Regions from separate parts of the Homo sapiens genome. Here region 2 is linked to region 1. Evidence: promoter capture Hi-C in 16 types of primary human blood cells and fetal thymus (Javierre and others, 2016). All regions are on one chromosome and are shown on one strand. The core of a region is centred on a gene start or on the middle of the fragment in contact, and the rest is flanking DNA. Distances in the headings are between cores, read along the strand shown. Region 1 holds the start of NDUFA7 (NADH:ubiquinone oxidoreductase subunit A7). Region 2 overlaps HNRNPM (heterogeneous nuclear ribonucleoprotein M).

Evidence for each region. Contacts are between HindIII fragments. The CHiCAGO score rates a contact against its expected background, and 5 or more counts as called.
Region 2: a fragment that was not itself captured here is called in contact with the fragment with the promoter of NDUFA7 in region 1 in 2 of 17 cell types (erythroblasts and naive CD4 T cells); the score reaches 6.1 in erythroblasts.

The regions. Positions count from the first base shown.
Region 1 is chr19:8,319,765-8,322,901 of GRCh38, forward strand. NDUFA7 (NADH:ubiquinone oxidoreductase subunit A7) reads right to left here and starts at 1,611. Exons shown (of 4, transcript NM_005001.5): 1 at 1,544-1,611; 2 at 1,093-1,142. The coding sequence starts at 1,594. RPS28 (ribosomal protein S28) reads left to right here and starts at 1,732. Exons shown (of 4, transcript NM_001031.5): 1 at 1,732-1,805; 2 at 1,892-1,939; 3 at 2,189-2,327; 4 at 2,508-3,137. The coding sequence starts at 1,767. The coding sequence ends at 2,311. KANK3 (KN motif and ankyrin repeat domains 3) reads right to left here. Exons shown (of 11, transcript NM_198471.3): 11 at 2,820-3,137. The coding sequence ends at 3,075. RefSeq lists enhancers at 1-698, 699-1,666, 1,521-1,760, 1,667-2,634, 2,635-3,137. The HindIII fragment of the contact is 9,773 bases long and covers 1-2,749 here.
Region 2 is chr19:8,446,017-8,449,575 of GRCh38, forward strand. The region is part of intron 1 of HNRNPM (heterogeneous nuclear ribonucleoprotein M); the gene reads left to right. Among named protein-coding and RNA genes, the nearest start is that of HNRNPM, 2.8 kb to the left of the region's middle. The HindIII fragment of the contact is 1,865 bases long and covers 348-2,212 here.

The sequences.
Region 1 (3,137 bases), core at 361-2,860:
ATCCATACTGGCCTCCTTCCACTCAGGCTCTGTCCAGCCTGACACTCTTAGCCCTTCCTGTTCCCTCTGCTCAGAATGTTTTTTCTTTTTTATTTTTTTGAGACAGAGTGTTGTTCTGTCACCCAGGCTGGAGTGCAGTGGTGCGATCTCAGCTCACTGCAATATCCACCTCCTGTGTTCAAGCGATTCTCCTGCCTCAACCTCCCGAGTAGCTGGGACTACCCGCGCGCGCCACCACGCCCGGCTAATTTTTGTATTTCTAGTAGAGAGGGGGTTTTACTGTGTTTCACTGTGTTGGCCAGGCTGGTCTCAAACTCCTGACCTCGTGATCCGCCTGCCTCAGCCTCCCCAAGTGCTGGGATCACAAGCGTGAGCCACCGCGCCCGGTCAGAATGTTTTTTCAATAATTATTCTTTGAATGGGTCCTTCCCATCATTCAGGGGACTCAACTGTCAATTTCCAAAGAAAGATCTTTCCCAATCATCTGACTTTACGTAGCCACCCTCCAGCTTCCACTTATTTTGTTTTGTCTTCAAAGCATTCCAGAACAATACTACCTGCTGTGTTTGTTTCCCTACTATGCTTCTCCCTAGAATGTGGCGTCCATGAAAGAATGTGGATAAGAACTTTCCTGGTTCACAAAGTTAAACCCAAGGCTGAGGTCATACATGACGGGGGCTTGTAAATATCAACTAATATTTTAATATAAATGAGTCTGAAATCAGGACACTTCTGGGTTCAAGTCCCCGCTGCCACTTTTTAGCTTCTGAGTGACTTGAGGCAAATGATTTCGCCTCTCTGGACCTCTTTTTTCATCTGTAGCTTGGGGATAACACTGACTAACATGGCCACGCTGAGCACTGCAAATCTAGCCTGATTGCCAGTCAGAATGCACGCCCGGCCTCGCTGTTTCAGGAGGGCTGTCCTCCGGAGTTCAGCAAGGTTAAAGGCAAACCTCTGCCTCCACAGCCTGGCAGGGGACTGGTGGCAGGATGTCAGCCCTCCGTTTCAGGGGTCTAAAGGAACACAGATTTCGTTTTTGGTGGAGAAAGGACAGAGCCAGAGGCTGGGCAGCGAGCGGGGCCTGCTCACCGCTTGGAGATCTCCTGGTAGCGTAGCTGCAGCTTCCCCTGCAGGTCATGCTGTGGGAAGAGGAGAGGAGAGGTCGGCCTGCAAGGCACCCCAGGAGAGAGGAAAGGAGAGGGCAAGGGACCAGGGATGGTCCGGGGATGCGCATTTTAAGGGAAGGCAGGGGATGAACACTCGGGGAAACGGATGTGGGTCCTGCAGGTGAAGAGCAAAGCCAGAGTCCGGGCCCACAGATCCAAGGCTAAGAAGGTCGGGGACTGGGGAAATCCCAGGCCTGAGTGGTTCCCAGGCCAGGAGAGGGTCCCGGGCTGAAGGGGTGACTAGCTGGGGGTTCCCAGGGAGATTCGGGGAGAGCGAAGGGTCCCGGCTTAGGAGGGAGGTGAGGAGCAGGAGCGGGTCCCGGACACACGGAGCCCGAAGCCCCCCATGGTGCAGCCCTGTCCGCCCCGCGCACCCCGGACGCCCAGTTCCGCAGCCGCTGGATGAGACGGGTGGCGGACGCCATCTTCCGTCCGCGATACTGAAGGGCGCAGCCGGTGACGTCTCCACCGCTGGGGCTGCTGGGAAAGACGCGGCGTGGTATCGCGAGACGGGAGTGGGCGGTGCTAGAACGTCCTATAAAGGCTCTCCCCGAAGCACGTGACTCCTCTCCGCCAGACCGCCGCCGCGCCGCCATCATGGACACCAGCCGTGTGCAGCCTATCAAGCTGGCCAGGGTGAGGTGGGGGCCCGAATTTGGGGGCAGGGGGAGGGATTAGAGGAGCCAAACGGGCCGGGTCTGAACCCAGCTTCTTTCCTCCAGGTCACCAAGGTCCTGGGCAGGACCGGTTCTCAGGGACAGTGCACGCAGGTAATCGGGTGGGGGCATTTGGCCGACTGCCGGCGACCTAAACCCTGATGTGACCTCTACCCTGCCCTAACCCCTGCCAGCCGGAATCCGGGAGCCGATTCTCATTTCATCACGGGGTTCTGATGGTTCCCTTTAACGATCTGTATTCTGGCCCCGACACGTTCTCTGAATTCATATCTGCTTCCCACTCCGCGGTGCCTTTCCGCGGCCCGCCCTTACTTCTTCCTCCACTCCGGTGGGGACCCGTAGGTGCGCGTGGAATTCATGGACGACACGAGCCGATCCATCATCCGCAATGTAAAAGGCCCCGTGCGCGAGGGCGACGTGCTCACCCTTTTGGAGTCAGAGCGAGAAGCCCGGAGGTTGCGCTGAGCTTGGCTGCTCGCTGGTGGGTGCAAAGAGGACACCCCTTTGATAGACCTTTGGTTGGTGGTAGGGAGGCTTCGTTAAGCCCAGGGTGAGAGGGTTTGGGAGGCAGAGTCTACATACAGAGACTGACAAGAGGGAGGCGGGAGTTTGCCAATTGCTGCGGGGCCTGTCAACATCTCATGTTTGGGTCTGTTTACAGGGTCTTGGATGTCGGGTTCGACCACTTGGCCGATGGGAATGGTCTGTCACAGTCTGCTCCTTTTTTTTGTCCGCCACACGTAACTGAGATGCTCCTTTAAATAAAGCGTTTGTGTTTCAAGTTAACTCAGGTTCTTGTCTGGGTTATACGACTAGGGTTTCTCCAGGTTTCTTGAGTGGCTCCCAGGCGGTCACCGATCCTCCGCACTCTGGAAATCCTGGCCGTGCGGTCTTGCCAAACGAAGCTTTTCCTTTTTGAGGCGGGGGGTCGTGTTTGTCGATTGCACCCTCTACCCCAAACAAAACACAAGCGTAGTAGGAATGTTTTATTAGCAAAGAAGTTTCAGAGAGTGGGTGGATCAGGGCTCTATCACTTGGTCCCCACCTCACCTTGGTGGGGCCAGAGTGAGCCCCTTCCTGCCACAGTCACCCCAACTGAAATTGCCTTTCTCTTCGGCCAGTGTTAGCCTCTGAGCAGGGGACCCTGGACCCTTCTGTGCGCCAAAGGCTGAGGTGACTGACGAGGAGATCTCCCCACAGCTAGGTGTAGTGAGCCAGACGAGGCAGCTTACTGAACCTGGGGGTTCTCTCCATTGTCACCGCATTCTCCTTCACCAGGTGTGGCTGTCTG
Region 2 (3,559 bases), core at 30-2,529, 130 kb after region 1:
GAAACTCATTCATTCTGATTACAGACACTTAAGAGAGACAGAGAGGTTTTGGCTCCAAGATCAGCGGCCGGGAAGGAAGGGGAAGCCTGGGTACACATTGAATTTCCCAGACATTTATTTCATTGTGGTAAAATAGACATAACGTAGACTTTGCCATTTTAACCATTTTTTAAGCGTATAATTCAGTGGCATTGAGTATACTGACTCAGTGTGCTGTAACCGTCACTGCTTCATGTCCAGAACTTTTTCATCATCGGAAACAGAAAGTGTAGCTATTAAATACTAACTCCCTCCGTTTTCTTTCCTTTCTGTCTGTGACTTTGCCTTCCTCATATTGTAATGTGTGAAGCTTAGTTTATGGAGATTAAAAGTGAATGCGGTTGAGCACTTATATATTTAATTTTTTTCTTTGAGACAGGGTCTCCCTCTGTTACCCAAGCTGGGATGCAGTGGCACGATCACAGATCACTGCAGCCTCGAACTCCTGGGCTCAATCGATCCTTCCATCTCAGCCTCCTGAGTAGCTGGGATCACAGGCGCGGCACCACCATGCCCGGCTAATTTTTTGAAGAGAGGAGGTCTCCGGGTGTTGCCCAGGCTGGTCTGAAACTCCTGGGTTCAAGCCATCCTCCTGCCTAGGCCTTCCAAAGTGCTGAAGTTACAGGCATGAGCTACTGCGCCCTGCCTAGTTGAGCGCTTAGGTTAAGAACGTTCCCTAAGTGCTAGCTATATTGGTAGATAATAAATCCGGAGAAAATTCCAGATTCTTTCCCTCCTTAAGTAGGGAGAAATAAAATACCATGGTTACTGGCCCTTAGAAATGAGAAAAACTTCCTCTATTCCCAGCATTTTACTATTGAAAACTCTGGGAAGGAATGTGTTAATTTTGACTTTTTCAGCGTCTATCTACGGAAGCTGGTAGGATTTCTGAGGGTGGTATTTGGAGGGCTTTAAGATAAATTTATTTACCGTATGCAGGAAGGAGTGCTGGTAGAACCTTGCTAGATGATAGGGTAAATTAATAGATTACAAATTTTCCCTTTTCCCCTGTCCATTTTCAAATAGTCATTTTGTGACTGAGTCATTTTACAAATACATGTGGACTGTTGGAACCTGAAAATTGTAGAATAAAATAGCCGTTGTGAGAAAGAGGCTCAAAGTCTCAAAGTCTAGTACTAGCTTCATAGAGGATAGTTTAGGAAGCTGGCAACACTTGGATATTTTTGATAGGGCCTGTGGAAAACTTTTTTTTTTTTTTTTCATTACAAGTCTTAAGGAAATCTCTTTAGAAGCCTATACTTTTGCACTCCATGCAGAGTGGAGAGGCCATTAACATATTTGTATGTTATGTATGTTATGTAATTACCATAACATAAGGTAATTATGCTGTGATAGAAGTTAGTGGAGTTGCTTGGTAGAAAGAATGGAGGAGGTGACCTCCGCCACCTGCTGGGGGCAGGGACCTGTTCCTCCATGACAGGAAGACGTGTGGAAGTGGAGGAGAAGAAGATGGTTGGGGAGGGGCAGGGAAGAGAGTATCCAAAGAGCAGAGATTTGAGTGTATGCTTTATCGAGAACTGAAGTTGTGCTGGGTGTAGTGGCTCACACCTGTAATCCCAGCACTTTGGGAGGCTGAGGTGAGAGGACTATTTGAGCTCAGGAGTTCAAGACCAGCCTGGGCAACATGGTGAAACCCTGTCTCTACCAAAAAAAAGAAAAAACAAAACAGGCTGGGCCCGGCGGCTCACGCCTGTAATCTCAGCACTTTGGGAGGCCGAGGCGGGCAGATCACGAGGTCAGGAGATAGAGACCATCCTGGCTAACACGGTGAAACCCCGTCTCTACTAAAAATACAAAAAATTAGCCGGGCGTGGTGCCGGGCTCCTGTAGTCTCAGCCACTGGGGAGGCTGAGGCAGGAGAATGGCGTGAACCTGGGAGGCAGAGCTTGCAGTGAGCCGAGATTGGGCCACTGCACTCCAGCCTGGGCGACAGAGCGATACTCCTTCTTCAAACAAACAAACAAACAAGAACACTGAAGTTGCTATAGAGTTTTAAGGTTGGAGCACTGGCAGCCAGCTGATGGGCAGTGAATTTGGATTTTTATCTTGAAAGCCTTTGAGAGACAGGAGAAAAATAGAAACTTGGTTCTTTGGAATTCTTTCTCTACCAGGAGTGGAGTGTGCAGTAGACCACAAATGCAGTGAGCTAGCAAGCTTGATCTGGGAACCCAGGTTGGAAATCTTGTTTTGCAGTTACTTCTCTCCTGGGTGTGAGAATAGGATTTGCTTAATTTTGATGAGAAGTCTGTTCCAATTAAAGTCAGCAAAGATTCAGAGTTAGGGTATAGTCAGGGAAAAAAAAGTTCATTTTAGGGGAATGTATAGGTTTTTAAAATTTTTTTAAATGTAGTATCATATATAAAATAAATGACTTAACCTGCTCCCCTTCCTGAGTAATTTTTTTTTTTTTTTGAGATGGAGTCTCGCTCTGTTGCCCAGGCTGGAGTGCAGTGGCGCGATCTCAGCTCACTGCAAGCTCCGTGAACCGCTTCCCGGGTTCACGCCATTCTCCTGCCTCAGCCTCACGAGTAGCTGGGACTACAGGCGCCCGCCACCATGCCTGGCTAATTTTTTTAATATTTTTTTTTAGTAGAGATGGGGTTTCACTCTGTTAGCCAGGATGGTCTCGATCTCCTGACGTCGTTATCCGCCCGTCTTGGCCTCCCAAAGTGCTGGGATTATAGGCGTGAGCTACCACACCTGGCCCCTTCCTGAGTAATTTTGTGGGTGAATAAGAAACAGATGGATTGGTTATTTATAAAAATAAAAATATATATTTAGGGTAGATTCCTGAGGAGGTACTGTTAGAGTTGACTCCATTTGACAATCAAGAAAACTTTCGTTTTAAACACTTAAACCCAGGTTCAGGAACCTGACCTAAAGACTCCAGGGGAGGCCCTCCTGACTCCCAGGCAGCTTGCTGCTTTCATGATACTACCTTGGTAACCACTCAGTAAACAGCCGTTTGAATTGTTTTATTTAAATCAGATTCTCTATACAATGCATTTGAGTGTTTGCTGTACTTTAAAGAGTGATTGTTTATTCAAAAAGGATTTTGGAGACACGTCAGATTGTGAGCTCAAGATTAGAAGACAGGGTTTTGGATTATTTGAATGCATGCTGCCAGGCCTTTGCTTTCACTCAGCTCTTTGATTTTATTCTGGTTAGGGAAAGAGATACTAGCCTGCAAAGATTAGCTTGCTTGTTTTTTTGGGAGGGGGGGTTCTCCAATGGACTTCCCCATTACCATATTTTGCAGTCATAGGGTTGAAAGCTAAATTGTCCCTTTGCTAGTCTGTAATGATTATGATGCCTAGGTTTTCTCAGCCTTGGCTCTGGTTTGCTAGTTTTAAAGCCTGAACAGTAGAAGGCTAGGAGTGAATCAGTCCCCCTCTCTACCCTTCTCAATAAAATTATTGGTAGAAAAATACATCATTGCCTCACTGTGTGCTAAGAGTCTCTTTTTTTTTTTTTTTTGAGACGGAGTCTCGCTCTGTCG